3 separate regions of the Homo sapiens genome follow, and regions 2 and 3 are each linked to region 1. The links are contacts of gene promoters, found by promoter capture Hi-C in human tissues and cell types (Jung and others, 2019). All regions are on one chromosome and are shown on one strand. The core of a region is centred on a gene start or on the middle of the fragment in contact, and the rest is flanking DNA. Distances in the headings are between cores, read along the strand shown. Region 1 holds the start of EXD2 (exonuclease 3'-5' domain containing 2). Region 2 overlaps ERH (ERH mRNA splicing and mitosis factor). Region 3 has its middle 38 kb from the start of ERH.

Region 1 (5,016 bases), core at 940-3,439:
ACAAAGATGCCATATAGTTAAAAGACAAGCAACAACTTAAAAAAGCAATAAGCAGGGAGTAAATATTATAAACACATATGAATAACAAAAGATCAAAATCCAGAACATATAAAATACTATTATAAATCAATAAGGAAAAGACAATCCAATAGAAAGAGATGTTTCTCAAAAGAGGAAATACAAATGGCTGACAATCATGAAGATGTTCAATCTCAATAGTAATCAGGGGAATGCAAATTAAAACAGCAAAGAGAAATCACTTTTCCATCCATCAGATTGGCAAAAACAAAAAAGATCGATACCATTAAATGATCAAAAGAGCATGGTGGGCCAGACACGGTGGCTCACGCCTGTAATCCCATCACTTCGGGAGGCCAAGGCAGGCGGATCACTCGAGTTTAGGAGTTTGAGACCAGCCTGGCAAATACGGTGAAACCCCGTCTCTACTAAAAATACAAAAATTAGCCAGGCGTGGTAGCGGGTGCCTGTAATACCAGCTACTCGGGAGGCTGAGGCAGGAGAATCGCTTGAACCTGGGAGGCAGAGGCTGCAGTGAGCTGAGATCACGCCACTGCACTCCAACCTGGGCAACAGAGCAAGACTCTGTCTCAAAAAAAAAAAAAAAAGAGAGAGAGAATGGAGGAAATTATTATCCACCGTGGGTGGCAGTTTGGCATTCCTAAATCCCCATACTCTCCCACCCAGCAATTCCACCTGCAGGTACCCATCCTTGAGAAATGCTCTCACATGGGCTCTCACAGAGGTGTGTGGGAAGGATGTTCTCCGCCATACTGTGTCTAACAATGAAAAACTGGAAACAATCTATGGAATCTTACATAACCATGGAATTTACAGAGCAAGTAGAAAGAATAGGTAGATCTCTAGGTACTGACAAAGAAAAAATTCCAAGACCCGTTTTTAAGCATAAAACGTCAAGTTGTGTAATGCATAAAACATGCATATTTGTAAAAGTTTAAAGCGAAATCTTACAAACATATATCTTATACGTACACATACTTGTCAAATAAATGCAAAGAAAAATACACACAAACTGACAACAGTTCTTATTTTGTGGGAAAGGGACTGGTAAAGAAGGTGGAGATGGAAAAAAACAAAATCAAAGAGGATCTGTCTTCCACACTCCCCACCCTCACCACCAAGAACATCAAGCTAAGAAAGATCTGTGTTTAAAATTTTTACATAATTTTGTTACAAGGCTTTATGCACGGACTATAACTAGAATATTTTAAAAATACATTTTTAAAACAAGCTCAACTTGACCAAATTTAATCCATCTTCCCCGCTGCGCCCCAACCCGCACTTCCTAATTCCTATGATTAACAAAACCTTTCAATTCCTTCTATCCTTGGAACAGAACTAAGAAAATAAAGTATAATTTCAATTTTGTGTTTTTGAGGAGAGGGTATATAAAGGAGTTTGAATGTTGGAATCATATCAAAAGCTTATCGGGGGATTGGTTTGTTTGTATTTTAAGGAGCAGATGTCAATTTTGTAATAAATAATGATTAAGGTTCTTAGTTTTGATCCATCCCAGGGATGTGAAAAGCCAAAGAGGTGGCTCCCGGCAAGGCCCAGAGCAGGGTGTGGTCTGGGAGGACAGGGATGGTAGCGAGGGTGGCGGCTCACACGAATCCAGGAGAGAAAACAGCAGCTGTTGCCGCGTCGAACCCGCAGCGCCCGAGGAGCTACCAGGTGCCGCGGGCGGGGCCTCCTTTTTAGCTGACTGGGACACGCAGCCTCGAAGGTCTGGTAGAGTCTCCCAGGGAGAGGGTAAGGGGGTCGAAAGGAGAGGCCCAAGGAGGGCGTGGGAGGCCGCGGGCAGGGGTGAGGCCCTCCTTGCGCACCTGGGTGCTGAACCGCCCCGCCGTGTGCGACGGGGGCGAGGGGGTCACGCCGAGGGGCGGGGAGAGGGGCAGGGCCAACTCGCTCCGGGACAGCGGGGGCCCCGCAATGTCACCCCCGTACACGGTAATATCCCCCCGCTCCACGACCCCTCTTAGTCTGCACTGGAAGCACCCCCTGCCCCGCGCACAATCCTGGTGCAAGGCTTCGCCGGCTTCTGAGCCTCACTTACCTGCTGTCTCGGACTGGGCCGCACACCTGCAGCGGGCTCACGTTAAAGACCTGGAACCTGTGCGGCCGCCTGCGCGCACCCACCCGGATTCACTAGGGCCGTAACCACTTCCGTTCCTGCGACAGGCCTGGAGGACGTAATCCCAGCTGGCGTGTGGGAACGGGCAACGCCATTTTGTACGGAAGCTACTGGGGCAGGTGATGCCTACCCAGTCTCTCTCCTCTGTTGAACAAAGGATCTGTTAAAATTGGAAGGGCTTAACGTCTTCTTCAGAAAAGTGACGCATTTGTTACTGGGATGGTATGTTTGTGTTTTGGTTTTGGCTTTGAAGGGAGAAACCTCCAGAACTCTCACAAATGTAATATGGGACATCGAATTTTCCTTCTTTAGTATCCTGCGTACTGTTTTTCTGCTAAACGATAACAGTAAATAGAAGGAAAGACACTGTATTTAAATAATGTAGTCTTCATTAGCAGTGCACATTATCCTATAGCCACTATAATAATTTTATGTACCCTCCTTTTTTTTTTTTTTTTTTTTTTTTGTAGATACTGTCTCCCTACATTGCCTAGGCTGGTCTCGAACTCCTGGGCTCAAGCGAACCTCACAACTCGGCCTCCCAAAGTGCTGGGATTACAGGCGTGAATGCCCAACCTATGCCATCTTTTATAGCGATAACCACAATACTTTTTGTTTATATATTAAATCGTTCATCCAATCAGTCTTTATTAGCAATTATATGTGAGGCAGTTAATCTGTGCTACATGCATGCTTTTCCTTTCTCATGGAATGTGTAAAACAGAAGGAGAAATGAGATGTGCATAAATAACCAATATAAGGTATAATAATAGCTACCATTTGTTGACTTTGTGCTCACCTGTTGCTAGGAACTTTGCAAAGCATTTTACTTATTTTTTCTCCTTTAATCCCCATAACAACCCTGTGAGGCAGTACTATTATTAGTGCCGTTTTACATAAAATAGAAAAAGGTTAAATAACTTCCTCAAGGTAATTCAGCAAGTAAGCACCGGAGTTAGGAATCAAACCTCATATTTCTGATTGCAGAGCATGTGGCCCCATCCTTTATACTATATTGCCTTCAATACAGGGGCAAATGTTTTAAATTCCATTGAATGAGTACCCATGGGGGAAATTTCCAGCTATTATAGAGGATTAACTCCCTGAATTTTTATCTGCTCCATCTTGAAACACTTAAAAAACAAAGGATAAAGAGGAAATGCAAATTAAAACCACAATGAGATATAGCTAAATGAAAAAGAAAATGTCAAGTATTGGCAAGATTGTGGAGCAACCACAACTCTCATATGCTCCTGAAGGGAACATAAATTGATGCAATCACTTTGTTTAACTGTTTGGCGGTATCAACTGAATCTGAATATGTGAAAAGACTTTGTTCCAACAATTTCACCCCTAGCTGGGGCACAGTGGCTCAACGTGTCATCCCAGCACTTTAGGGATTTTCACTGTGTTGCCCAGGCTGGTCTTGAACTCCTGGCCTCAAGCGATCCTCCCACCTCGGCCTCCCAAAGTGCTGGGCATCATGGTGTGCACCTGTAGTCCCAGCTACTCCAGAAGCTTAGGCAGGAGGACGTCTTGATCCCTGGAGTTTGAGGCTGCAGTGAGTTGTGATCACACCACTGCAGTCCAGCATAGGTGACAGAGCTAGACCCTGTCTCGAAAACAAAAACAACAAAAAACAATTTTACTCCTAGTTATATATATGCAACTGAAATGTCTGCATGTATTCACCAAAAGGACATGTACAAAAAAAAGCTCATACCCATACTTTCAACAGCCCCAAACGGGAAACTACCCAAATATCCCTGCTATTAGAAGTCACTGTATATAATGATTAATCTTAGGGTAGTAATAACTGGAAGGGAACATGAGGAGGTTCACGAAGTGCTGATAATGTTCTATTTCTTAATCTGAGTGCGGCTTTACATGTGTGTTCAGGTTATATTTGTGAGCACTTTTCTGGTTTCATATATACTTCGATAAAAGGGTTTTTAAAAATGATAGTAAAGGAGTGAAAAGTTTGTTAACCCAAAGAAGAAAGAACAGGAAAGGACATAGTACCAAACTAAAAAAAAAGATACAATTTTAAAAGATAGAAATTAGATTAGAATGGCAGATACATTGTATGCTTGTATCAAAATATCTCATGTACCCCATAAATATGTACATCTACTGTGTGCCCACAAAAATTAATAATTAAAAACAAAAAGAATAGCAGAATATTGACATTTGGAGGATTTCATAAAGAACTGTCTGGGTTCACAAGCAATCACTCTACATTAAGGCCCAGTCAACAAGACTCATCTGTGCATACAGAATTTCTAATCAGCTTTTAAAATACAGTTTCTCACTTTTAAATATGAGAAGACATCCAAGAATCACCAGTCATTATGGGAATGTCTGACATAATTAATTAACCTTTTCTAAGGAGCATGTATAGAACTATGTAAAGAACCCTCCATTCCTGAGGAAGACAAAGAAAAGAACTATGTCCTCAACGATGTGAAAACACAAATTGTTCTCAAATATACTTTTCACATTTACAGGGAAGATTTAAGAAAATTAATTTTGATTTAGGCCATTGATTATCTAACTGGTTGCTGTTTTTAAAATCAAATAATTTTTAAAAATGTAGGCTATTGAGCAACTTTTTACAAATTGCAAAAAATTGCTATCATACAGATCACATTCTCTGACTACATTGCAATTAAGTTAGAAATCAATCATGAAGCTGGGTGCGGTGGCTCATGCCTGTAATCCCAGCAGTTTGGGAGGCTGAGGCAGGAGGATCACCTGAGGTCAGGAGTTCAAGACCAGCCTGGCCAACACGGTGAAACCCTGTCTCTACTAAAAATACAAAAATTAGCCAGGCACAGTGGCCG
Region 2 (5,016 bases), core at 1,632-4,131, 190 kb before region 1:
ATTGAATAAAAACTAAATAGATAATATACTCTATAGCTAATTATAATTAGTAATGTGGGCTTGCTATTAATGATTTTGCTCATTATCTTTTTTATTATATTTAAGTACTTATATCCTTGTTCATGTGCTAATGCTTTATGTGTATTATTTCAAATAAACCTCACAATTCTATGAAGAGGCACTCTTAACTCTGTTTGACAGGTGTGGTTCAGGGAATGGCGTCGTTTGTCCTCGGTTTGACAGGGGCAGAGTTGGAACTAAAGTCTGTCTGAATCCATAGTCTAGGATTTTTTGTTTGTTTGTTTGTTTGAGACAGAGTCTTGCTCTGTCACCCGGGCTGGAGTGCAGTGGCCGATCTCGGCTCACTGCAATCTCCACCTCCCAGGTTCATGCCATTCTCCTGCTTCAGCCTCCCGAGTAGCTGGGGCTACAGGTGCCTGCCACCATGCCTGGCTAATTTTTTGTATTTTTTTAGTAGAGACAGGGTTTCACTGTGTTGGCCAGGATGGTCTCTATCTCCTGACCTCGTGATCCGCCCGCCTTGGCCTCCCAAAGTGCTGGGATTACAGGCGTGAGCCACTGTGCCCGGCCTAGTCTAGGATCTTAAATATACATTAGGATAATCTCTTTCCTTGTTGCCAATTTTTTTTTTTTTTTTGCTCTGTGGCTTTAGGAAGAATTACTGAAAAACCTGTTAAGACCCACAGTGTTATTTGTTTGAGCCATCAGATGGCAAGTCTTTAAAGCCCCTTAGCTCCAGTGGTTTGAAGTAATCATTTTATTATTAAGACACAAAATAGTTACATCAACATTGTGGTGAATTTCTCAGCTGCCCAGACTGGAGTGCAGTGATGCAATCACGGCTCACTGCAGCCAAGTGATTCTCCCACCTCAGCTTCCCAGGTAGCTGGGACCACAAGCACACGCCATCACGCCTGGCTAATTTTTTAATTTTTGTAGAGATGAGGTCTCCCTGTGTTGCCCAGGCAGGCTGGTCTTAAACTGTGGGGCTCAAGTGATGCTCCTGCCTCAGCCTCCCAAAGAGCTGGGATTACAGGCGTAAGCCACTACACCTGACCTGGTGAATTTATAAAATAAAAAAGTATTTGCTAGTGGCAATAATCAAAAGCCATCAATCTATCATCTTTTCCCCAGCCCAACTTTATTAAAGTAAATATGATATCAACATATAGCACAGCTCATAAGCACTGCTCATATCTAGAAGTGTATGCGATTGTAAGATTTTGCTTTTTTTCCTATCCTTTCTTAGGTGTTTGTAAAATGTATGAAGAACATCTGAAAAGAATGAATCCCAACAGTCCCTCTATCACATATGACATCAGTCAGTTGTTTGATTTCATCGATGATCTGGCAGACCTCAGCTGCCTGGTGTAAGTATTAGCCAACATGTCTTTTATCTTGTATTTTCTATTGCTTTTCTGTCTGTTTGAGGTGATTTATGGTATTGGGAGCTAATTATGTGCCTGATACTGATCTTTGCATTTGCATAGTGTATAGTAATTAATATTTCTCTTACAGAAATAAGAGATTGGCAACATAAAGCCAAAGGCACAGAAAAAAATAACTTTGCTAATTGATATAGTTAGTATCCAGAAAGGATCCTAATTCAGAAGTTCCATGTGCCTCTTCTTTGTTCCTTATACCTAATTTTTTTTTTCCTTTACAGTCTTTGTCTTAAAGCCATTGGTTTTGGATTAAAACTAAGATTATCTTTTTTTCATGACATTTCAAAAACTTAAATATGCGTATAGCTGAAATTTAATTTCAATCCTACGCTGTGTAAGTACGTATATTTTGGTATGTTAGAGTGAGATTTTTTAACATATTTGTTATAGTTTGTATTGATAATCTGCTTCTGACAATTACTAACAAGGAGCATAAAGTGTTACTGTAGACTTACCTAATCTTTTTTACATTAGCGAACAGAAATTGAGTGTAAATACAGCTCATTTAACCGAGGAAAATGGAAGCACCTTATGATACAATACTCAATCATCAGATACTTGAATATTTATTACATGTCAGGTGCTGTGCTAGAAGTTGAAAGAGCAGTGATGAGAAATATACAAGTCTTACTCATAGGCACTTCCTGGATCACCACTGGAGCCAATCATGGAATGTGGCTGCACCATGCTGTCTCCCCAAAAGTTCCAAAACACGCATTTCCTTGGGATGTTTGAGTTTTGTTTTCTGTACCTCTTCATTGTGTTCCGGTTGTAGCCATTTCACTTTGATCACTCAGAACATTCAAATGAATGTTGCATGGTACTTTAAGCCATTCAGACATCTATAGGAAAAACATACCAGACAGAGGGGATGAGGGACAGCTAGTGTAGAAGTCCTGAAGTAGGAGTGCCTAGCATGTTTGAAGTCATTAAGGAAGCCTTTGAGGCTGCAGAGGAATGAGTGAAGGAGAGTGTCTTAGGAGATTGGAGGAGCAGGGAGCAATGATATCCTGGAAGCCAAATGCAGAAGTGTGTCATATCATTGATAGGACAGATATGTGAGGACTGAGAATTTAATTGACCCCTGGATTTGACACTGTGGAAGTCTTTGGTGACTTCCAGAACGGTTGTGGTAGAGTGCCAGGAGTAAAATGCTTACAGATTTCAGTGTATGGAAGGGAATGAAAAGAGAGGATTTATAGGTGGCCATTACAGGCTTGCTTTTTTTTTTTTTTTCCTTTTTTTTATTTAAAGAATTTTGCTTGAAAGAACAGAAAAATGGGGTTGTAGCTGGAGAAAGAAATTGCTTTTTTTTAAGTGGGAAAAGTAATGGTAAGTTTGCAGGCTGATGGGATGATGTACCAGAGAAGGAGAAACTGATAGCTCAAATTGGCTCTTGGACAGTTCAATCATAAAAAAGGGAGGACAGGCAAATTTGGGAGCTGGGGGGAATTATCTTCTGTATGCTTCAGTTATCTCAGAAAGATAAGGAGCAAGGACATCATTTGAAACAGGTGTTACAGGTTTGTGGAAAAGTAAGAAATAAGCTAGGAAGGTGAAAGAATTAGGGAACTGCAATTAATTCAGGGATGCATTAAGTGTCCTCCAAAGTACCTATCTGATAGTGATTTAAAGTGAAATCAGTCATTGTGATCATGGGATTTTTTTCCTAGTCTCTCTCACCTGGATGGTTACAGGTGAGGAGTAGGTAGAGAGTAAAGATTTTGCTAAAGGTTGAGGGCATATATGAGGACAACAGCAACGACTGAATGACCATGAGCTTTAATTGGGGGTGTAGGAGGAGGTGCTGGAAACAGAGGTAGATCAGTTCATTGTAGGTCCCACTGGATCAAGGATTGCTCACATTAGAGTGTTAGGAAGTGGTGATCAGAGAATGACATGCTTGAAATTAGGAAATTGAAGTAGTTGGAAATGACAAGGTCTAGGGATCTGGCCAAGAGAGGGTAGGAGATGAGATCATTAGAGGAAAAGACTTCATGGAATTGGGAGGCCTAAGTGTTGACAGAATCATCCACTGGATATGAAATTACCAATAATGTGTATATTAATTGATAGAATTTAAGAAGAAGTTGCTTTGTGTTTGTTCACTGCTGCATCTCTGGTACATAATTAGTGCTGAGTAAATATTGGTTATATAAATGCACGTCACTTGTGTTGTTATTTGAGGAATAGCTTTCTAAAATTATTGATAATTTTCTATTTCCCTTATTTATATTACAGAGCTATATTCTGCATTGATTAAAAATTAATGGTTGTCTTTATGGTTTTATAAAAGAACCTTACTGAAACATTCAGGATGTAATCCTGACGCTTTTGGGATGTCATACTTACTCCCAGTAAGTGGGAAGTAAACTTGAAGCAAAGGATCATGTTTTACTTGTCTTGGGAGGCTGTGGTTAAGAGCTAGCTGGAGTGGCAGAATTAGACATAGCTGGGTTTGAATCCTGGGTCTACCATTTGCTAGCTCCCTTTGACAAGGCAGCTTTGTATTGCTAAACTTTAGTTTGCTAATTTGTAAAATTCAGACAAATCTAGTTCATAAGACTCCTTGTGAGGATCAAGTGCTTGCTGAGCACAGCATTATTAGATATGCAGCAACTCCCTTTTCAACTAGATTGAAGAAGTCAGGATAGAGTTTTATTTTTAATTACAAGCATGTTCTTAAATTTGCCAGGAGTAGAATGATATGAATTTTAATGTCTACGTGTGAGATAAATTATAAATTTCAAGGGAGATTTAAAAGGTGTTGAGGTTTTTTCAACAATATGAAAATTGAGCAGAGTAAAACAGTTACAAGTGACATGTTAATGATATACAAGTATGTCATTAATGACATAACATAACTTTTCTAACTTTGTACTAGACTTTATAAAAAAAAAATTTTAGAGACAGGGTCTTGCTATATTACCCAGGCTGGTCTCAAACTCCTGGGCTCAAGTGATCCTCCTTCCTCAGCCTCCCCAAGGAGTGATATTACAGGCATGAGCAACTGTGCCCGGCTGCATTAGACTTTAAAATGTAAACTAGAAACCATATCTAGCATACTAAACTGATTTTTAATACAATATTTGCTATATTAAAGCAACATAGGGGGAAAGCTTTAATTATTACCTAGATAATTCTTCCCACCTACAGTATTTCCAGAAATATAGAAGAGAGGTTAATGATAATTTATGGTTTTTTAGTAGTTTCAGAGTGTTAAAAACCGTAAATTATCATAGCTTGAAAACCTGTAACTATTTGTTTGTTTCTAATGTTGAAAATTTTTTGGCCTCTGAAAAACTTTCAGAATCAAATTTAGGATTTAAAACTATTTTCCCCAGGTGACTTTGGTTATGTCCTTTTTGTTCTTTGAATATTCAGGAGAAATAAGGTATTGTTTCCAAAGAGGTAACCCACTGCCACAGCACATCCTGTGATTTGGGCCGTTACTCCTCAGACCAGAGACTGGGTCCGTTTTTGGTTTGTAGATGGTTGTGTGCTCATAGTTTCTATTAAATTTACATGGCAGTGACCTAGGACTTTTTTA
Region 3 (5,016 bases), core at 1,254-3,753, 170 kb before region 1:
ACGGTGGGACAGCTGTGCTCTGAAGACCCCAAACAGAACCACTCTTCCTGCCTCATAACCTTCCCTCCCGGTCCAATATTCTGATGGTTTTCAAAGCCTTGTTGAAACATCAAGTCCCCTGCTGAACTCACTTTGCTTTCTTCACAAGGTAAAGCAAGTGTCATGAAGCAAGGTTTCAAAGCCAGACCAGCAGTCTTCCACTCAGGAACGAAGTAGGTGCTGGGACTCCCCAGCCTCCTCTCTCTGGTCAACTTCCCACCATTTCAGGCCACCATGTCTGAGCTGCAAAGTCTTGCCCTGGTGGCTGGAGACAGTCCTGACCAGCTGGAAAATTCAAAGCTTTAGAGTCTAGCAGCTCTGGCCTGCCCAGGGTCGCATAAACGTATCCTGAGGATTCCCAGACTGCTGTTTCCACTTTACAAGACCTGATGACAGACATTTTCCCATTTGATCTGCTCCCACATCATACCCATTTTTCAGTTGAGAACAGTGAGGCTCAGGATGCCTAAGCAGCTGGCTAAAAGTCTCCCAGCTCAGAAATAGCTGGGCCAGAGCTACAGCAATTGTTCTCTTATTGTGAGGCTGAACTCTCCTCTCTATCCCTGCAGTCCAACACAGAAAACCAGCCAAGAAATAACTGAGATGGACACATTTGGTTATAATAATTTTAAATAAGCCTCACTGCTTAATGAGCATGCAGAGATCCAGGCACCTGGTGGAAGCTGTGGGGCTCCACAAAGCACCCTGGAGCCTCCACCTCAAGTGGACAAAGCCACAAGGCAGAGTACACACGGGTCTGAACAAGCTCAAAACGAATGTCTGAGGACAAATAAGGCAGAGCAGAGAACCCTGAGGCCGGGAGGACATTGGGAACAAATACCCCTGGCCAGGAGGCAGGGAGAAAACAGGCCATGCTGGACATAGCCCTGGGCCCTCAGGCCAGCTCAGTCAGGGGTCTCACCCTCCCGAGCCCCAGAGAAGATGCCTGGCCCCAAGGCAGACCATTCGCAATCGCCTCCAGAGCTACATCACGGGACATTGTATTCTTGGATCTACCATGTCCTGTGCTCCCAATTTCCTGCCCTGTGACTTTATTATTTATTTATTTATTTTGAGATGGAGTCTCATTCTGTCACCCAGGCTGGAGTGCAGTGGCGTGATTTCGGCTTACTGCAGTCTCCGCCTCCCAGGTTCAAGCATTTTTCCTGCCTCAGCCTCCTGAGGAGCTGGGATTATAGGCATGCGCCACCACACCTGGCTAATTATTGTTTTTTTAGTAGAGACGGAGTTTCGCCATCCATGCCAGGCTGGTCTTGAACTCCTGACCTCAGGTGATCCACCTGCCTCGGCCTCCCAAAGTGCTGGGATTACAGGTGTGAGCCACCGCACTGGGCCCCCTGTGACTTTAGGTGCTTTAGCCTCTCATCCTGTTTCTACATCTGCAAAATGATGATTGTGGAACCAACGTTGGCTCATCCTACCTCCATTCTAAGAATCAGCCATGTAAGGATACGGGATGTGGGGACAAAAGCTCTCAGCCTGTTAGAGCTTTGCACAGGGCCTCAGTGTCCTCAAGTGCAACATGGGGATAACAGTACAAACATGTCAGTGTTCTATGAATATACAGACTGATGGGTGAAAGGCAATAAGGAGCAGCAAGGAGCATGGACCCTGGATCAGACTTCATGATTTTAAATCCTGGCCCTCCATCCTGCCAGCTGGGTAATCTTGGGCAGATATGTTAACTTCTCTGGGCTTTGATATCTAGTTTGTAAATGGGGTGGTATTGAAAATACCTACCTGATAGAGTTGTAAAGATCAAAGAAGATAAAATGTGTGTCTCAGTGTTTGGTCAGTGACTGACAGGACCAGTTATAAATGTCATTGAATGGAGTACTCATAGAAAGGGCTTTGCCATGTAACTCACGGTAAAATGTATGCCTGTCCTGCAGGCTGGAGGATGCAGCACTGATTCCTTGATTAATAGATCTTCTGAGGCAGAAGCTCTTCTAGAATGAAGTCAACCATATGTGGCTGGTATTGGGGAAGAAACTCATAAATCATGCAAAGCGAGGCTGGCATGTGGCAGCTGGTTCAGTGGCAACCCTCAGCCCAGCCCAGTGCCCACTCTCCCTCCGCCTCAGAGTGATCCATCACTGCCCAGAGCTCTGTGGCAGGCAGCTTGCTTAGCAGGGGCAGGGCCCGCAGCACCCAGCTCTCTGAGCCTTCTGCACCACGTGGTGACACGTGGCCCCGTCAGGGGACCAGAACCCATCTCAGTCACCAGAACAGTGGCTCTCAAACCTGAGCATGCATCAGAATCCCCAAGAGGCTTGTTAAACTCAGAGGGCTGGCCCCACCCCCAGAGTTTCTGATTCAGTAGGTCTGAGTGGGGCCCAAGGGTTTGCATTTCTTCATTTCTTTTCTTTTCTTTTTTCTTTCCTTTTTTTTCTTCTATTCTTCTCTCCTCTCCTCTCTTCTCTTTTCTTCTCCTTCTTCTTCTTCTTTTTTTTTTAGACAGTCTCACTCTGTCTCCCAGGCTCAGCTCACTGCAACCTCCACCTCCTGGGTTCAAGGGATTCTCCTGCCTCGGCCTCCCAGATAGCTGGGACTACAGGCACTGGGCATCATGCCCAGCTCATTTTTGTATTTTTAGTAGAGATGTGGTTTCACCATGTTGGCCAGGCTGGTCTCGAACTCCTGGCCTCAAGTGATCCACCTGTCTCAGTCTCCTAATCGGCCTCTTCTTTTTTTTTTTTTCTTTTTGAGATAGGGTCTCGCTCTGTTGCCCAGGCTGGAAGTGCAGTGCTGCAATCATAACTCACTGCAGCCTCAACCTCCTGGGATCAAGTGATCCTCCCGCCTCAGCCTTCTGAGTAGCTGGGACTACAGGCATGCACCACCACACCTGGCTAATTTTTAAATTTATAGTATAGATGAGGTCTCACTATTTTGCCCAGGCTGGTTTCAAACTCCTGAGTTCAAGTGGTCCTCCTACCTTAGCCTCCCAAAGTGCTGGGATTCTAGGCAGGAATCGCTGTGCCTGGCCAAGAGTTTGCATTTCTTTTTTTCTTTATTTTATTTTATTTTATTTTTGAGACAGAGTCCCACTCCGTCGCCAGGCTGGAGTGCAATGACACAATCTCGGCTCACTGCAACCTCTGCCTCCTGGGTTCAAGTGATTCTCCTGCCTCAGCCTCCCGAGTAGCTGGGACTACAGGCGTGTGCCACCCGCCTGGATAATTTTTTGTATTTTTAGTAGAGATGGGGTTTCACCACATTAGCCAGGATGGTCTCGATCTCCTGACCTTGTGATTGCCCACCGCGGCCTCCCAAAGTGCTGGAATTCCAGGCGTGAGCCACCGCGTCTGGCCCAGAGTTTACATTTCTAATAAGTTCCCAGCTGAAGGGGCTGGTCTGTGGGACCATTGACACATGCTCCTGTGAGAGTGAGTTTAAACCTAGCTGTTTATCCTTGGGCAAATTTCTTCTCTCAACTGAGCCTCCCCTCCTCATCCATAAAGTGAGTGTATGAGAACCTACCTCATTGGAGTGCATATGGTAGCCTTACTAAGATTCTGGGTACCCAGAAAGTGCTCAATCTGTGTCAGTCCTCAGCATCACCAACACATTGCTGTTGAGACAACTAATGAATAGGGAGGGTGGAGTTGTGGCAACATCAAACTTGTAAGAAGTGAGACGAAAAATGGACAAGTGTATATTGCGTGCTTTCTATGTGCAGTGTACTAATTCCTAAATGCCAAAATGCTTTATCATTAAAAGACAAAGCAAAACAAAAACAAACCCAGTTAGAATGCTTTATCTTTAATTAATTCATTCAGCAAACAAACATTTGCTGTAAGTCTGAGAAGCAGGTTCTGTGCTGTAGCAGTGGGAGGTATGAAGCTGGAGCAGGCGTGGTTCCTGTCAGCAAGGAGCTACAATCTAACAGAAAAAAGAGGACAAGACTAGAGAAGACAGGAACACACCATAGCGTATGGAGGAAGGTGATGACAGGCTGGGAAGGAACGCTCAGCACCCTGAAGAAGCAAGCTGGAGAGGTACTTTTCAGACAGGTGGGGGATCAGGAAGGGTTTCCTTGCAGAAGCAGCACTTGTCTGGGAAAATGGGTAGCATTTAACTCATGGAGTTAACAAAGTATGGGGCAGAAGAAACAGCAAAAGCACAAACAAGAGAAAGCAGAAAGCAACTTCGCACTACACGACTCAGGTCACTTTGGCTGATTGTAGGGTGAGGAAGAGAGAGTGGAAGCCGAGGTTGGCCTGGCTGTCTGCCATCAGGCATTGGATAGTTGTAACCATCGGTGGTTCATGGGGCTCCTCTGAGAGCATTCCACCGTCTTTGTGGGGCAGGTGTTCAGTATACCACTGTGGGCTTGATGATGGGTGTGATGATGACGCACCGGTGTGAGAGCTTGCATGTTCTAGGAGGGGGAACCCCCCGGAGCTCTAAGCACTGCCAAAGCCAGCTCACCTTCCCAGCATCCTTCAGAAGGAGAAGTCAGTCCCAAGCCCCCACCTGATGGCTGCAGAACCAAGGCCACACCGCACACCCAAGAGAAAGCTCCCAGTGCCACTCTGCTGCTCCACCTGCTGCCCCCACAACTTACTGTGACCTGATTTAACCTTAGCATCCCCCACACTCCCACCCCCAGGGAGGCCAAGGCTCTGGAAGGCAGAGTCATCCTGGGCGAGGGGCAGCCCCTGCCCTTGTGGGCAGAGAAACCTGGAGCTCTGCAGCTGCCTGACAGGGTTGTGGGAACTGCAGTCCACCCACGGGGAGAGGAGCAAGCCTCCTGCCATGCTGAGAGCCATCTCTGACTCAAACTGTGGGGAGGGGCCCAGACAGAGACCCCATCGAGGTGGCCCTAGAGCAACTGTCTCCAGAGACTCTTACCTCCTGGTTCTCCTGCCAGAGAGTCCCCCAGACTCTCCTGCCATCCCTAGTTTCCCATCCAACTGAGGGTCTCCCAGCTGGGGACTCTCCACCACTGCT

Evidence for each region. Contacts are between HindIII fragments. The study calls those that stand out against the background at their distance.
Region 2: a fragment that was not itself captured here is called in contact with the fragment with the promoter of EXD2 in region 1 in 1 of the 25 tissues and cell types used here (IMR-90 fibroblasts).
Region 3: a fragment that was not itself captured here is called in contact with the fragment with the promoter of EXD2 in region 1 in 1 of the 25 tissues and cell types used here (IMR-90 fibroblasts).

Annotation. Positions count from the first base shown.
Region 1 is chr14:69,188,671-69,193,686 of GRCh38, reverse strand. It overlaps EXD2 (exonuclease 3'-5' domain containing 2), which reads right to left and starts at 2,189. Exons shown (of 10, transcript NM_001193360.2): 1 at 2,096-2,189. The region is part of intron 3 of GALNT16-AS1 (GALNT16 and EXD2 antisense RNA 1); the gene reads left to right. RefSeq lists a silencer at 1,779-1,968. The HindIII fragment of the contact is 7,126 bases long and covers 614-5,016 here.
Region 2 is chr14:69,383,338-69,388,353 of GRCh38, reverse strand. It overlaps ERH (ERH mRNA splicing and mitosis factor), which reads left to right. Exons shown (of 4, transcript NM_004450.3): 3 at 1,271-1,391. It also overlaps a transcript of GALNT16 not described here. Among named protein-coding and RNA genes, the nearest start is that of ERH, 12 kb to the left of the region's middle. The HindIII fragment of the contact is 7,932 bases long and covers 1-5,016 here.
Region 3 is chr14:69,358,104-69,363,119 of GRCh38, reverse strand. It overlaps a transcript of GALNT16 not described here. Among named protein-coding and RNA genes, the nearest start is that of ERH, 38 kb to the left of the region's middle. RefSeq lists an enhancer at 2,094-2,173. The HindIII fragment of the contact is 6,134 bases long and covers 1-5,016 here.